5 separate regions of the Homo sapiens genome follow, and regions 1, 2, 3 and 5 are each linked to region 4. The links are contacts of gene promoters, found by promoter capture Hi-C in blood cells and fetal thymus (Javierre and others, 2016). All regions are on one chromosome and are shown on one strand. Each heading gives the region's core, a stretch centred on a gene start or on the middle of the fragment in contact. The rest is flanking DNA. Distances are from core to core; before and after follow the strand shown.

The links. The method cuts DNA at HindIII sites, captures the fragments that hold promoters and counts their contacts. A CHiCAGO score of 5 or more calls a contact.
Region 1: a fragment that was not itself captured here is called in contact with the fragment with the promoter of BCAT2 in region 4 in 5 of 17 cell types (endothelial precursors, M0 macrophages, erythroblasts and 2 more); the score reaches 6.0 in endothelial precursors.
Region 2: a fragment that was not itself captured here is called in contact with the fragment with the promoter of BCAT2 in region 4 in 13 of 17 cell types (endothelial precursors, erythroblasts, megakaryocytes and 10 more); the score reaches 12.6 in endothelial precursors.
Region 3: a fragment that was not itself captured here is called in contact with the fragment with the promoter of BCAT2 in region 4 in 1 of 17 cell types (endothelial precursors); the score reaches 5.9 in endothelial precursors.
Region 5: a fragment that was not itself captured here is called in contact with the fragment with the promoter of BCAT2 in region 4 in 1 of 17 cell types (endothelial precursors); the score reaches 5.1 in endothelial precursors.

Annotation. Positions count from the first base shown.
Region 1 is chr19:48,989,571-48,992,503 of GRCh38, reverse strand. GYS1 (glycogen synthase 1) reads left to right here. Exons shown (of 16, transcript NM_002103.5): 2 at 1,021-1,202. Among named protein-coding and RNA genes, the nearest start is that of GYS1, 2.3 kb to the left of the region's middle. RefSeq lists an enhancer at 2,348-2,739. The HindIII fragment of the contact is 1,116 bases long and covers 863-1,978 here.
Region 2 is chr19:48,972,326-48,975,565 of GRCh38, reverse strand. GYS1 (glycogen synthase 1) reads left to right here. Exons shown (of 16, transcript NM_002103.5): 11 at 833-946; 12 at 1,227-1,353. Among named protein-coding and RNA genes, the nearest start is that of FTL, 8.6 kb to the right of the region's middle. The HindIII fragment of the contact is 1,204 bases long and covers 1,144-2,347 here.
Region 3 is chr19:48,629,022-48,631,906 of GRCh38, reverse strand. SPHK2 (sphingosine kinase 2) reads right to left here. Exons shown (of 7, transcript NM_020126.5): 7 at 1,502-2,885. The coding sequence ends at 2,134. DBP (D-box binding PAR bZIP transcription factor) reads left to right here. Exons shown (of 4, transcript NM_001352.5): 4 at 855-1,877. The coding sequence ends at 1,070. Among named protein-coding and RNA genes, the nearest start is that of DBP, 6.9 kb to the left of the region's middle. The HindIII fragment of the contact is 1,674 bases long and covers 451-2,124 here.
Region 4 is chr19:48,809,098-48,812,318 of GRCh38, reverse strand. BCAT2 (branched chain amino acid transaminase 2) reads left to right here and starts at 1,290. Exons shown (of 11, transcript NM_001190.4): 1 at 1,290-1,335. The coding sequence starts at 1,312. LOC105372432 (a long non-coding RNA gene) reads right to left here. Exons shown (of 3, transcript XR_936017.4): 3 at 1,482-1,975. RefSeq lists silencers at 1-24, 1,101-1,320, a cis regulatory region at 1-211 and enhancers at 1,073-1,367, 1,641-1,710. The HindIII fragment of the contact is 3,241 bases long and covers 1-1,856 here.
Region 5 is chr19:48,677,576-48,680,698 of GRCh38, reverse strand. LOC105372431 (a long non-coding RNA gene) reads left to right here and starts at 3,121. Exons shown (of 3, transcript XR_936016.3): 1 at 3,121-3,123. It also overlaps the pseudogene SEC1P. The HindIII fragment of the contact is 8,665 bases long and covers 1-3,123 here.

The DNA of each region.
Region 1 (2,933 bases), core at 171-2,670, 180 kb before region 4:
GGCTGGAGACTGTAATGAATGCCTGGGCTTTGAAGGAGCTGAGGGCCTGAGCTATTAGTTCCTAGGAGTAGAGGAGCCCATGGCCTGGGACACATGCGTACTGGAATAGGGGAAGGCTGGGAAGTCCTAAGTTAGTCAGAGGCTGGGCCCTAGGATGGGAGGGGCTAGGAGCCTGCATTTCTGTGTCTTGGGCTTCAGAAAGCTGAGGTTCTGGCCTTGGAGAAGGCTGGGGCTGAAATCCCCAGGAACAAGCCAATCTCACACCTCAAAGAGCAGGGTCTGGGGGGTTGCTTTGCTGGGTCTTGGAGGAGAAAGGGACTGTGTCTCCCAGGAGGAGAGGGGGCCCGTGAACACCCAGCCGGGTATCGCCAGGGCCTGGGCTCCAGGATGGGAGGAGGCTGGGGGCTGGGGCTCCTGGGTCTGGGATAGGGTCATGGGAGAGGCAGAGCCCTGCATGCTGGTGTCCCTAGTCAGGGAGAGGAAATTGGGAGGCAGGTCAGCAAGGTCCCTGGGGGCAGGGAATGACCATGCAGGCTTCTCTTGGGCAATGGTGAGAAGCTGGATTGGCCATGAGGGGGTCTCCCTCACTGGGTTTTGGAGCCTGGCTGCGATTTAAACCCAGCTCCTGTGAGCTGGGAACTCGGGAACCTGAGTCCGGGTAGTCAGTCCTCAGCTCTGCCATCCTTAGAGCCCCAGTGCCTAATTCCTTCAGACCAAGGGGTCCCGGCACCCAGCCCCTTCTCTCTCAGACCCAGAAGTCTAGCCTGAGCCCCCTCCTCCTTCAGGGTCCTGACCCCAGCCCCCTTCTCCCTTAGACCCAGGAGGACTGCCCTCCAGCCCTCGTGTTCCCCTCATCCAAGCTTCCAACCCCTACTCCAAACTATGGGCTCCCAGTCCCCTCTTCCCCCTGAGCTAGAGGTCTGGGGCCTGAGTGCCCCCTACATCCCCGGCCCACCCCACCCCAGGCCCCAGAACTATGGACCTCGGCCGGGGCCTGCCCTCACACGCTTGGGCCCACAGTGGGTGGCATCTACACGGTGCTGCAGACGAAGGCGAAGGTGACAGGGGACGAATGGGGCGACAACTACTTCCTGGTGGGGCCGTACACGGAGCAGGGCGTGAGGACCCAGGTGGAACTGCTGGAGGCCCCCACCCCGGCCCTGAAGAGGACACTGGATTCCATGAACAGCAAGGGCTGCAAGGTGGGACGTGGCCCAGCCCAGGGCAGAAGCGGGTGGACAGCCTGCCATCGGGGTGGGAGCCACAGACGGAGAGGGTGCAGGGTGGACAGCCCCAGCCAGAGAGCGAGGCAGGCTTGGACACAGGAAGGAGGCGTGATAGGACACCCAGACAGATGCAGGGCCTGGAAGTGGGTGGGTGGATCCCAGACATGGGCGAATGGACAGACAGATGGCAAGTATGAGACAGACTGAGACGGAGATCCAAGAGGCCAAGGTCCTCAGACCCAGAGAGAAAGAGAGCAAGATCGAAAGACAGCCTGGTCAACATGGCGAAACCCCGTCTCTACCAAAAATACAAAAATTAGCTGGGTGTGGTGGCGGGTGCCTGTAATCCCAGCTACTCGGGAGGCTGAGGCAGGAGAATCGCTTGAACCCGGGAGGCGGAGGTTGCAGTGAGCTGCGATTGGGCCACTGCACTCCAGCCTGGGCGACGGAGCGAGACTCTGTCTCAGAAAAGAATGCCAGCCAGCCAGGCAGAGCTGGGGAGAAGTGGGCCTGAGGTCAGGAAGGAGCAGGATTCTGGAGCTTGAAGTTCAAGTTCACCCTCCACTTGCTGCCTGTGTGTCCTTGGCTAATGGACATGCTAATAGCGTCTACCTTCTAGCGGTGCTGGGAGGAGGAAACAGTTAATAAGGACAAAGTGGTTAGTAGAGTTCTTGGCATGAAGGTAGCACATTGTGTGGGCGGTGATTGTCATTGTTATGATCATCGTCATTATTGTTACTAACAGCCAAGCTTGGAGAGTGAGGGGGACAGGCAGACCAAGGGAGAAGGGTGGATGGAGCCACAGGCAAGAGTAATAGACTGGGGACAGAAGAGAGGCCACCAGATGTTTCAGAAAGCCAGTCCTAGAAGGAGAGAGAAGCATGGAATATCGGGGAAGAGAGGAGAGGTCAGTGGACAGACCCACAGGACAGAGTCTGAGATGGGCAGATCAGGGATTAGAGAGGAGGGGGAGTTCCAGGGCCCCAGGGTGAAGACGGAAAGAGACACGCTGTTGTCCAAGGAGAAAGCCATCAGGCGGCACGCTGTTGTCCAAGGAGAAAGCCATCAGGCGGCAGGGCTAAGGGACAGACAGGTCCAGGCTGGGGATGGAGAGGCACTGTGGTTCCTTTACTCATTCACAGCCTCTGGTTTGGGGTGGGGTCTGGAATCCATTCAGGTCCGACTGTGTCCCTAAGGGAACCCAGAACAGCCCAGTCGCTTCCTGAGGGCAGCTGCTTCCCACGTGCTGGGGGCCTAAGAATAGCCCCCCCCCCCCCCCAGCAAAAGGGCAGACAACAGCTGGGAGGGGGAGGGACCTCAGAGCGAGGCTCCAGGCAGCAAAAAGCCAGGTCGGCGAGGAGCGGGGCTGCTTCTCCACTGCTGTGGCAGCAGGCCCAGAACCAAAGCCATGGTCTCAGGGAGGAAAACAGCCAACTGGAGAAATGTGGCAGAGGCAGAAGTGAGACAGCAAGTCTTAGAAACACGGCAGTGGCTAGAAAAATGCAGCCCTGGGGCACGGACAGAGGATGGGCTATGTTAGAAATGTGTGGCGTGGCCGAGGGCGGTGGCTCATGCCTGGAATCCCAGCACTTTGGGAGGCCGAGGTGAGAGGATAGCTTGAGCCCAGGAGTTCCTGACCCACCTGGGCAACATGGCGAAACTCTGTCTCTACTAAAAATACAAAAAATTAGCCAGGCATGATGGTGC
Region 2 (3,240 bases), core at 496-2,995, 160 kb before region 4:
CCCATTGACTGGGGATAGTTATATTTCCTTTGGGTTTCTTTAATAATAGAGCCCAGAGTACAGAACAAGGTAGCTGCAACTCCTCATAGTCCTTGGAGGTAAGGGAGTTGCTAACACGGCTTTGCCTCAAAGACAGCTGGGAATTCTAGTTCTTTGAAGCTCATGGTGGTTAAGGGAAGGAAAACATTTCCAGGCCAGGTGTGGTGGCTCATGTCTGTAATCCCAGCACTTCGGGAGGCCAAAACGGATGCATCGCTTGAGCCCATGAGTTCGAGACCAACTTGGCCAACATAGTGAAACCCCATCTCTATTAAAAAAAAAAAAAAAAAAAATTAGGCTGAGCGCAATGGCTCACGCCTGTAATCCCAGCACTTTGGGAGGCCAAGGCAGGTGGATCACGAGGTCAGGAGATCTAGACCATCCTGATTTAACACAGTGAAACCTCGTCTCTACTAAAAATACAAAAAATTAACCGGGCGTGGTGGTAGGCGCCTGTAGTTCCAGCTACTCGGGAGGCTGAGGCAGGAGAATGGCATGATCCTGGGAGGTGGAGCTTGCAGTGAGCCGAGATTGTGCCACTGCATTCCAGCCTGGGCGACAGAGCGAGACTCCGCCTCAAAAATAAATAATAATAATTTAAAAGAAAAGAAAGAAAACCTTTACAGGTTGTACTAGTGGGAATCCACAACTCCTGGTGATCACTTGGGTTTGTTGCCCCACGTCCGGTGCATTTGTGGTCTCCTTGGCTCCCCCAGGGTCCGCATGGCTCATGAGGAAGTAGGGAGTTCTCTGTCCCTTCCATGACCCCTTACCCTTCTTGTGGCTCCTGCAGCGGCAGTCTTTCCCCCCTGTGTGCACCCACAATATGCTGGATGACTCCTCAGACCCCATCCTGACCACCATCCGCCGAATCGGCCTCTTCAATAGCAGTGCCGACAGGGTGAAGGTGAGGGCATTTGGTCAGGGCTGGGTTGGGCACGGCAGAGGGAAGGGGTTGGGTCCTGGGCCTCACACACTCCATTCCCCTATAAGTTTTATCAAAGGTATTGCTGTGGTTAGAAAGAACCCTGGCTTCTGAGGCAGGCAGACCTGGGTTTGAACATTGGTCCTGCCAAACACATGCTGTGTGATGCTAGACAAGCTTTTTACCCTCTCTGGGCCACCTTGGGATCTCAGGGCTTAGCTAAATAAGGCACTTGGGCTGAGTCCTTCTTTTTCACTACCAGGTGATTTTCCACCCGGAGTTCCTCTCCTCCACAAGCCCCCTGCTCCCTGTGGACTATGAGGAGTTTGTCCGTGGCTGTCACCTTGGAGTCTTCCCCTCCTACTATGAGCCTTGGGGCTACACACCGGGTGAGTGTAGTGGGCAGGGGACAGCGTGGTCATGGCATCCTAGTCAGAGCTAGCATGTCTTGGGGCGAGGCACTGGCCTTCTCTGAGCCTGTTGCCTTCTTTGCAAAACAGGAACAATGGTAATCACCTGTTCTGCTACAGCGCGTGCTTTTGTGATACAATAGCTCATGTATTGAGAAACTAGAAGACTGGGTTTTGAGGACTAGTGAACTGGATGTCACAGTTCACACTGCTTTCTCCCAGAAAGCAGTGGCCCCCCAAATAGTGGCAATGAAATGCACAATTCACAAATACAGCCGAGTGTGGCCAAGTCTCCTCGTAAGACGTTCCCAGTGCCCATCAACTCCACCTTCCTCTTGTTGGTTCACATTAGCCAGTGTTTTTAAAGCTAAATAAGGCTGGGCGTGGTGGCTCATGCCTGTAATCCCAGCACTTGGGGAGGCCAAGATGGGCAGATCATGAGGTCAGGAGTTTGAGACCAGCCTGGCCAATATAGTGAAACCCTGTCTCTACTAAAAATACAAAAATTAGCCAGGTGTGGTGGTACGCACCTGTAGTCTCAGCTACTTGGGAGGCTGAGGCAGAGAATTGCTTGAACTTGGGAGGCGGAGGTTGCAGTGAGCTGAGATCATGCCACTGCACTCCGGCAGTGCTGTGCTCTGGGTGACAGAGCGAGACTCCGTCTCAAAAAAAAAAAAAAAAAAAAATTAAAGCTAAATTAGTGCCATTTCCTAATTTATTAGTAATTTAACAAGTCCTGCAAACTGTGCTTGCATGATAATTAGGAGTCGCGGTCAGCCCCAATTCCCTTTTTCCATAGGCCTTGTTTTATAGATAGATTGATAGATAGTACTAGTCTGTTTTCACACCGCTATAAAAAAAAAATCCAAGACTGGGTAATTTATAACGGAAAGAGGTGTAATTGACTCACCGTTCCACATGTCTGGAGAGGCCTCAGAAAACTCAGTCATGGCAGAAGGGGAAGAAAGAAGCTTCTTCTCATGGCGGCAGGAGGGAGAAGTATGTGAGGGTGCAGGAAAAACGAACATTTATAAAACCATGAGATCTCGTGAGAATTCACTCACTATCATGAGAACAGCGGCGGGGGAACCACCCCCGTAATCCAATCATTTCCCTCCCTCGACACGTGGGGACTACATTTTGAGATGAAATTTGGGGGGGAACACAGAGTCAAACTATATCATAAATATATATTTAATACATTTTACTATTTGTTTCTTTTTTGAGATGGGGTTATTACTCTGTTGCCAAGGCTCACCTGGAACTCCTAGGTTCAGGTGCTTCTGCCTCAGCCTCTTGAGTATCTGTCATTATAGGTGCATCCCACCATGCCTGACAGATGTATTATATTTAGTGCCTATTTTTGCAGTTTACAGATGTTTTTAGGAAAACTTACATAAGAATTATAGATCAGGCCAGGCATGGTGGCTCACGCCTATAATCCCCACACTTTGGGAGGCCGAGGTGGGAGGATCACTTGAGGACATGAGTTTGAGACCAGCCTGGCCAACATGGTGAAACCCTATCTCTACTACAAATACAAAAATTAGCTGGGGGTGGTGGCAGGCACCTGTAATCCCAGCCCTTCGGGAAGTTGAGGTGGGAGAATCGTTTGAACCCCAGAGGCAGAGATTGCAGTGAGCTGAGATCGCGCCACTGCACTCCAGCCTGGGCGACAGAGTCAGACCCTGTCTAAAATAATAATAATAATAATTATAGGTCAGGGGCAGTGGCTCACACCTATAATCCTAGCATCTTGGAAGGCTGAGGTGGGAGGATAGCTTGAGCTCAGGAGTTCAAGACCAGCCTGGACAACATGGTGAGACCCTGTCTCTATAAAAGATTTTTTTTTTTTTTTGAGACAGA
Region 3 (2,885 bases), core at 38-2,537, 180 kb after region 4:
CAGATCTACACCAGTGGTTTCTCCTTCTAGAGGGCCCTGTTGCTAGGGACTGGATTTACCCTCACAAGCAGGAACTGGGCTTTAATTAAATAGTGGAGTAGAGAGCATCTTTCTGAGCCCCGTGGTCCTTGGTTACTAAGGAGGAGTCTTCCTTAGGAACCAACTTCCAGGATGGGAGGACTTTAGGTATAATCCTCTGGGGAGGTCTCAGGATAGTCCCCTTTCCTAAGAGACAGCTCTTCTCTCAGTCAGGTCCTACTGGGGAGGAGGCTATTCTCTGGCCTCAGTTCAAGGCCAGCAGGTCAGAGGCTGGCCACAGTCATTGAAACCACTTAGACCTCACTTTTGTTTGCCAAGGATGGATGAGGTTGCCTTGGCAACCAGGTCAGAAGGCCCCAGCTCTGCGAGGATTTTATGGGACACCAAACCCCATCACCAGGGCACCAAGCTTTCCTTAGCAACCAGGATCTGGAAAGGCAATGTGCAGGGCAGGGCAGTGCTCTTCATTGGGAGAAGCCCTCAGACCATGAAGGCCTTGTTGCTAGGGAACAAGCATCCTTAGCAAGCAAGAGCTAACTGCATGCAGGCCTTTATCATGTGGGGAGGGCTGGGGTCCGCTTTGCAGAGTGGAGACTTGAAGCGAGTTGCTTGAGGGTGGGGGGTCTATCTCATGCCTTTACTGTTGCTAGGGGCCCAATCTCCTTAGCAACCAGGGCCCTAGAAAGGCAGACCCTTGGGTACCTATCCCAGCAGAGACCTGGTGTGGTTTAGGCCCCGCTGCTGGGGCTCCCTTCCTCTCTCGCTGGGACCTGGGTCCCTCTGGACCTCAGTGCTCTCCCCCTCTTCTCCTGCAGGATGAGAAATACTGGAGCCGGCGGTACAAGAACAACGAGGCAGCCAAGCGGTCCCGTGACGCCCGGCGGCTCAAGGAGAACCAGATATCGGTGCGGGCGGCCTTCCTGGAGAAGGAGAACGCCCTGCTGCGGCAGGAAGTTGTGGCCGTGCGCCAGGAGCTGTCCCACTACCGCGCCGTGCTGTCCCGATACCAGGCCCAGCACGGGGCCCTGTGAGGCTGCCCCACATCCCCACCTGGCGGAGCTCTCCTCCGCCTTGCTGAGACTTACGCCCTGTTCCCTTCCTGCCCTGTGGCCCACGGGCCGGCCAGCTGGGTGCCCCAGGGACGTGATAATGCAGATAAATACATTTATATTTTTAAGAAAAAGCGAGCCTCCCCCCTCCCTTGCGGGGGCGGGGAGGGTTCTCTGTGTGTGTCCCCGGCACGTCAGGGACCCTATCCTCCCACCGCCTCCGTTAACACGATCCTGAATAAATCTTGAGAACCCCAGAGCCAGCTGTTGTGGAAGAAGAGGGCAGCTCCCTGGCATACTGGCTGCAGCCCGTGGGCAGCTCCGGGCTGTCGTCCATAGAGGGCAGGCGCTGCTGGAAGTGCTGGAGTCTGAGTCCTCCCGCGGGCTGTCGGATGGAGGAAGGGCAGAAGGTCTGAGAGGAATGAAGCGACTGCCTTTATTGCATAGACCTTTTCAATTGCTTTTTAGATTGGGGACGGAGGACGCGCATGAGACGAACAGGGGATATGAATTTCCCCGCCCCCACCCGCGGGGAGAGGAACATTAGTGCAAATCCTAGCGCCGGCCCCGGGGAACCTGCCCCTCCTGGGCTGATTGGCCAGCTAAATGGAGGCACCGGAGTGGATGGGGCGAGGCTGCGGGCCCTGACCGGCCGACTCACTGAGGCCTACCCCAGCCAGTACATTCCAGGTCCTGTCATTGGGCGACGCGTAAAATAGACTCCGCCCTCAGCCATCCTGGCCGGGTAGGAGCAGGTGGCAAGCGTCAGGACTGAGCCCTGCCCCGTAAGGGCGGCCCCAGATCAGACGCCAGGCCCCGCCCTCATTGATCAGGCACTACCCTCGGGACGAGCCCATTTCTCTTTAACCGTGACGACGCCCACCTTCCAGCATCACGTCTGGTCCCATGAAAGCGAGCGCAATCCTGAGACGGGGCCAGGGCCCCTGCCACCACAACTCTAGCAGCCAGGCCACACCCCCTAGCTCAGGCTCCGCCCCATTGGAATGTAGGCCCCGCCCCCGGCGGGTACCAAGCTTGTTTAGTTTCAGGGCTCCCGCCCCGGGCAGCCAGGAGGCCCAGTGAGCAGTGTACCGATGCCAGGGTGCATCTGTGCCTGTAGCGGCCCATACTCCACCTGCTCCCCGTCCACTGTGAGCACGCCGCGTGGTGTGAGCGGCTCTAGGCGGAAGGCACGGGCCGCGGCGTAGCCCAGCTGCGGACAGCCCAGGCTGAAGTGGCTACCACGCTCCATGGCCAAGAAAAGGCGCAGCAGCGCAGCCCGCGAGATGCCGCTACGCACCCAGCACAGGTGCACCAGGCCGTCGTCGAAGCGCGCATGCGGAGCTGCCACCAGGTCAGCGCCTAGGTGGCTGGGCGAGATGGCCAACATGAGCACAAAGTCCCCCTCCAGCGTCACCCAGTCTGGGGGCAGCGGGGTGCCCAGCGGAGGCAGCAGGTGGTCGGGCGGGCCGCAGGTGGAGGCCCCTACCCGGGCATCAGGGGTGGGAAGTGGGAGCCCAGAGGATGGGGGAATTACGGGGGCCCCTTCGGAGACGGGTGAGTGTAGAGCTGCCTTGGGAGAGCCAGGAGGTGAAGACAGCAGTGGGTCCGGGGACAGCGGAGCATCCCCAGCCCCACCCCAGTCCCCAGCCAGCTCTGGGCCCCCACCGTTGAGGGACAGGATGGGCAGGGGTTCTGGCGAGCCAGGAGAGGCCAGGGCAGGCTGGGGCAGGGGAAGAGGCAGGTCAGACACAGAACGATGCAGGGGTGAGTGGGCCATGGGCGGGGCTGGGTCTG
Region 4 (3,221 bases), core at 41-2,540:
GGCGACGCCCTGTGAGGGAAGGGTCCCGCGGTTTGGCTGTTTGGGCCTGTGGCTGTTAGGGGTGGCAGGATAGTGACCCGGGGACAGGACTTGGGGGCACTGTGGGGGTAGAATTTGGAGACAGAGTGTCCCAGGGTAGGATTGCCGAGACACGATGGCCGAGGGATACGATTTTTTTTTTTTTTTTTTAATTTGAGACGGAGTCTCACTCTGTCGCCCAGGCTGGAGTGCTGTGGTGCAATGTCGGCTCACTGCAACCTCCGCCTCCCGGGTTCAAGCGATTCTCCTGCCTCAGCCTCCCGAATAGCTGGGATTACAGGCCCCCGGCACCACGCTCGACTAATTTTTGTATTTTTATGTATTTATTTTTATTTATTTATTTATTTTGAGACGGAGTCTCACCCTGTCACCCAGGCTGGAAATGCAGTGGCGCGATCTCGGCTCACCGCAACGTCCGCCTCCAGGGTTCAAATGATTCTCCTGCCTCAGCCTCCCTAGTAGCTGGGATTACAGGCGCACACCACCACACCCGGCTAATTTTTGTATCTTTAGTAGAGACGGGGTTTCACCATGTTGGTCAGGCGGGTCTTGAACTCCTGACCTTGTGATCCGCCCACCTCGGCCTCCCAAAGTGCTGGGATTACAGGCGTAAGCCACCGTGCCTGGCCTTAATTTTTGTATTTTTAGTAGAGACGGGGTTTCCCCATGTCGGCCAGGCTGGTCTTGAACTCCTGGCCTCAGGTGATCCACCCGCCTTGGCCCCCAAAGTGCTGGGATTACAGGTGTGAGCCACCAAGCCAGGACTTTTTTTTTTTTTTTTTTTTGAGACGGAGTCTCACTCTGTCGCCCAGGCTGGAGTGCAGTGGCATCATCTCGGCTCACTGCAACCTCTGCCTCCCCGATTCAAGCAATTCTCCTGCCTCAGCTTTCCGAGTAGCTAAGATTACAGGCGCCCGCCACCACGCCCGGCTAATTTTTTGTATTTTTAGTAGAGACGGGGTTTCATCATGTTGGACCAGGCTGGTCTCTAACTCCTGACCTCAGGTAATCCGCCCGCTTCGGCCTCCCAAAGTGCTAAGATTACAGACCTGAGCCACTTCGCCTGGCAGGGACCGTATTTCAAGTCCTGCCCTCCCACCAGCGCCTGCGCCCCGCAGCAGTGTCCGGCTCCCTGCCGACGCCCTGGAGCTGGGACGGCCTGGGGCGCTGGTCGGCCGCCTTCCCCCAGAAGGAGGCGTGAGCGGGGCGTGGCCGGAACGTCTCTCTTCGGAGCCGCGCCCCGGGCGGGCACAGTTACGCGCCGCACGGATCATGGCCGCAGCCGCTCTGGGGCAGGTGGGTTCGCAGCCCCGCGCCGGGGTCTGGGAAATAACCGGGGGAGGCGCACTTCCGGGAAGACCACTGGCCTGCAGCCGGTCCGACTCGGCGCCGCTCCTCCCGCCCTGGGGTTCCGCTGCAGGGCGCGGAGGAGGATGGCGCCCTTTGGAAAGGAGCACGAGGCTTTAATGGGGTGAGGGGGAGCAGGTAGACGCGGATGAGGTGGGGCAAGTAATTGGCGGGGAGGTAAAAAAAAAAAAAAAAAGGGAAACATGGTGGAGGACCCTGTAATGAGGGAGGCGTGGGGGTGGGGAGGTTGTGATTTGGGGAGCGGAGCCCTGGGGTGCGGTGGGGCATCAGCCTGTGCGGGAGCTGGAATAAAGGGGCCCAGACCTCCAGGGCCGGGTGCAGGTGAAGGCAGAGTTGGACCTCAAGTCTCAGCTCTGGGAATTGGACTCAAGGTCCTATTTTCTTGGAATGAAAGTTGAAAAAAATAAGAGATGGGGATTGCTGTGCTTCCCAAACTCCTATCTGAAGCTTTGCACCTGGATTGGAAATCGAGGCAGCGTCTCATGGTCAAAGTGACAGATGCTGCAGGCTGGCTGAGACGATCCCTTCTGACTGTGCGATGTCAAACAGCAGCAGCGTTTCCCAGAGTCTATGATTTCAGAGAACAAGGTTTCTCAGTGAGGAAGGAAACAGCCAAAGAAAGGGGTCATTACAAGCCTTCACAGCTGCGGTGTAACCTTGGGAGAACTGTCTGTTAACTTTACACCTGACTTTATTTGAGTCTCTTATCCTAGCTGATGAATGTCAGGGCAGAATTTCACTTTTTTCGGCTCTTAGTGACTGATAGGGATAGTCCTGGGATACCTGGGGTATGTGGGCAATCTGGGCTTTAGTGGTGACACTCCTGGACTGTGGTGGGGCAGTACTGGGCTTTGACAGGTCCACTTGGGACTGATGTGGACCGTCTCATCATGGCACAGTTCTGGTGTCATAGAATGGCCCTGAACTCATGATGGGACATTCCTAGGCTCTGATGAAGATAGAGATATCCTGTAATGGAGATAATTGGGCTGAGTCCTCAGCTGTGATGGGGACAGTCCCGGGGTGTGGAGAGGACAGTGCTGGACCATGGTAGGGACAGTCTGGAAGGTACTGGCCTAGACAGCAACATAGGGATAGTCCTGGGGATTGAAAAAGACAACAATGGGATTTTTTTTTTTTTTTTAATTTCAGACCTGGTGAATAGGAAATAAGCCCTGATATTTGGCAGAGACAATGCTGGTTATAATGGGGAAAAGTGCTGGGCTTTGGATAGGGGACATTCCTGAGCTGTTTGGGACAGTACTTGGCTCTGCTGGGGACCAGTTCTGATAAGTTACAGGCACAATCTGGACTTGTGATGTGGAGCATCTTGGGCCATCATAGAACAGCCCTGGTCTGTGATGGGGGAGAGTCCTGGGCTATAAAGGGGGCAGTTCTAGACGTGATGGGGTCATGTGTGGGCTGTGACAAGGGCAGACTGCGGTATGATGGGGTCTCTCCGGGGCCGTGATATGGGGACAGTCCTGGAGTATGGAGGGCACTGCTGGGCTTTGACAGTGACACTCCTGGTCTTTGATGGTGATACTCCTGGGCTGTATGGGACATAATGGAGGTTCTATCACATTATAGAGACCTGCCCTGTGAACCCCCAAACGTACTTTATTTCTTTGTCTCGTCTTTTCTTTTTGACCGAGTCTTGCTCTGTTGCTCAGGCTGGAGTGCCGTGGCACGATCTCGGCTCACTGTAACCTCCGCCTCATGGGTTCAAGTGACTGTGGTGCCTCAGCCTCCCGAGTAGATGGGCTCAAGCGATCCACCTGCCTCAGATTACAGGCATGAGCCACCATGCTGGT
Region 5 (3,123 bases), core at 77-2,576, 130 kb after region 4:
AACCAGTCCAGGGCCCGCTGCAGGTAGCCGGTCGGCCAGCACCCCCTTCCATACGCGCGGCATGACACGGACATAGTCCCCCCGGCGCACGTGGACCCCCACGAAGGTCGCCTGCCCTGCCCACTTGGCCTGCAGGCCCCGCAGGAACTTCTGGGCCTCCTCGCGCACGTGGTCGTGCAGGGTGAACTCCTGGAGGATCTCCTGGCGGAGGTGGTGGTAGAAGGTCCAGGAGCAGGGGTAGCCCGTGAGGCGGACACAGCGCCCCGGGATGTGGCGGTACTCCTCCTCCATCCAGTCGTTCAGGTGGTAGTTCTGCCAGGGGATCCTGCTGGCCGTGGCGCTGTGCAGCACCGGCAGGGTGATTCTGAAGATGGGGGCCAGGGTGCTGTGCATCTGGGCCGGGATGAAGGCGGGCCGCCCGTTCATCTTGGCCAGGGCGTACAGCGTGGCGTACTCGCCCATCTGGTTCCCCAGGCGGCCCTTGGAGTTGATAGTGAACAGGTCCTCCCGGGGCAGGTGTCTGGGGGCCAGGACCACACGGGCTGAGTATGCCCAGGGCGCAGGCACCAGAGCCAGGTGCTGGTGGCAGTGAAAGATGGTGGACACCACAAAAATGGCAAAGACGAAGTAGAAGGTGGAGAAGGAAGGGCGGGTGGCCCAGAATCCCTTGACGGCTGTGGGGAGGAGAGAGGACATGGTCAGGAGGCAGGGCTGGGGGGACAGGAGTCTCTTCACCCACCCCCTGCCAAAGTCATTCATTCACTCACTCAATCCATCCAAGCCTCTGTCCTGAGCACCACAGTGCATGGGAGAGGCCTCAGAGCACAGACCCTGGGGTCTTTCCACCTGAGGCTGAGTTCCTGCTGGAAGTCCCAGCCTCACCAGCACCTTGTGACTTCAGTCAAGTTACTGCACCTCGCTGAGCACAGCGGCTTGTGCCTGTAATCCTGGCACTTTGGGAGGCTGAGATGGGAGGATCACTTGAGCCCAAGTTCAAGACCAGCTTGAGCAAAAAAAGTGAGACCCTATCTTTACAAAAAAAAAAAATTTTTTTTAAAATTAGTCAAGCATGGTGGCATGCACCTGTGGTCCCAGCTACTTGGGAGGCTGAGGTGGGAGGATTGCTTGAGCCCAGGAGGTTGAGGCTGCAGTCAACTGTGATTGTGCCCCCGCACCCCAGCCTGGGCAACAGAGCAAGACCCTGTCTCAAAAACAACAAGAAGTTACTGAGTTTCTCTGAGTCTGTTTCCTCACCTGTTAAATGGGGATGAGTAGATGGAACTATTTGAAAGTGCCAATATTTAACCCGATTTTACCTACACTCATGGCCATTTCTTTTTTTTTTTTTTTTTGGCGATGGAGTCTTGCTTTGTCACCCAGGCTGAAGTGCAGTGGCACGATCTTGGCTCACTGCAACCTCCGCCTCCCGGGTTCAAGCGATTCTCCTGCCTCAGCCTCCTGAGTAGTTGGGATTACATGCATGCACTGCCAACCCTGGCTAATTTTTGTATTCTTAGTAGAGACGGGGTTTCACCATGGTGGCCAGGCTGGTCTCGAACTCTTGACCTCGTGATCCACCCGCCTCAGCCTCCCAAAGTGGTGGGATTACAGGCATGAGCCACCGTGCCTGGCCTACTCACGGCCATTTCTATGATTCTACCTCACAGAACTACCTCATGGGGTTGCTTGAAGATTAAATGTGATGATTTTGTAAAGCAGTGCCTCGCACACAGGAAATGCCCTGTATGTGTTGGAAAATCAATACCTGCAGTGGCTGGGCACGGTGGTTCACACCTGTAATCCCAGCACTTCGGGAGGCCAAGGTGGGCGGATCACCTAAGGTCAGGAGCTTGAGACCAGCCTGGCCAACATGGCAAAACCCCATCTCCACTAAAAATACAAAAATTAGCCGGGCATGGTGGCGGGTGCCTGTAATCCCAGCTACTCAGGAAGCTGAGGCAGGAGAATCGCTTGAACCCAGGAGGTGGAGTTTGCAGTGAGCCGAGATTGTGCCACTGCACTCCAGCCTGGGTGACAGAACGAGACTGTCTCAAAAAAAATAAAAATAACATAAATAAAATCAATACTTGCAGAGTATTTATTACAATGCCAGGCACGGTGCTCAGGGCCAGGAAGCCAGCAGAGGAAAAAACAGGTAAGAATCTTTGGTGCCCGTGCAGAGTTTGGGAAAGAGCACAGGTGGGCCCAAGTTCATGGACAGGCTCTGCCTTCTGCAGGCTGGTGACCTGGAGGTGTTATTTAACTCCTCCTCTCCTCCTCCAAGAAATGGGGCTGCCACACCCCTGCACTGATAAGTGCTAAGCGTTTCCTGATACTATTAGTGGGTGTGGTGGGTTCAAGCCACCACAGACTCCTGGACTCCCTTTCCCTTGGATCTGGGCGGGCCCATGACTGCCTTGACCACTTTAATATAGTGCAAGTGAAATTGTGTCCATTTCTGGCCCAGGACTTAAAGAACTAACAGCTTTCATGTCTTGCCTTGAGAATGTTCCCTCTGCACTATCGTGTCAAGCTGGAGAGTTCAGCTTTTGTTTTTTGAGACAGGTTCTCACTCTGTCACCTAGGATGGAGTGCCAGTGGTCTGATCACAGCTGGGCTCAAGGGATCCTTCCACCTCAGCCTCCCCAGTAGCTGGCACCACAGGCATGTGCCACCATGCCCCGCTAATTCTTACATTTTTTGTAGAGATGGGGTCTCACTGTGTTTCCCAGGCTGGTCTTGAACTCCTGGGCTCAAGCAATCCTCCTGCCTTGGCCTCCCAAAGTACTGAGATTATAGGCATGGGCCAGTTTTAGCTTTTGTATGTAGGGTTATGATTATTCATTTTTTTCTTTTCTTTTCTTTTCTTTTTTTTTTTTATGATGGAGTTTTTGCTCTGTTGCCCTTGCTGGAGTGCAGTGGTGTGATCTCGGCTCACTGCAACCTCTGCCTCCTGGGTTCAAGCGATTCTCCTGCATCAGCCTCCCAAGTAGGTGGGACTACAGGCACCCGCCACCACGCCCAGCTAATTTTTGTATTTTTAGTAGAGACAAAGTTTCACCATGTTGGCCAGGCTGGTCTGGAACACTTGACCTCAGGTGATCCACTCACCTCAGCCTCCCA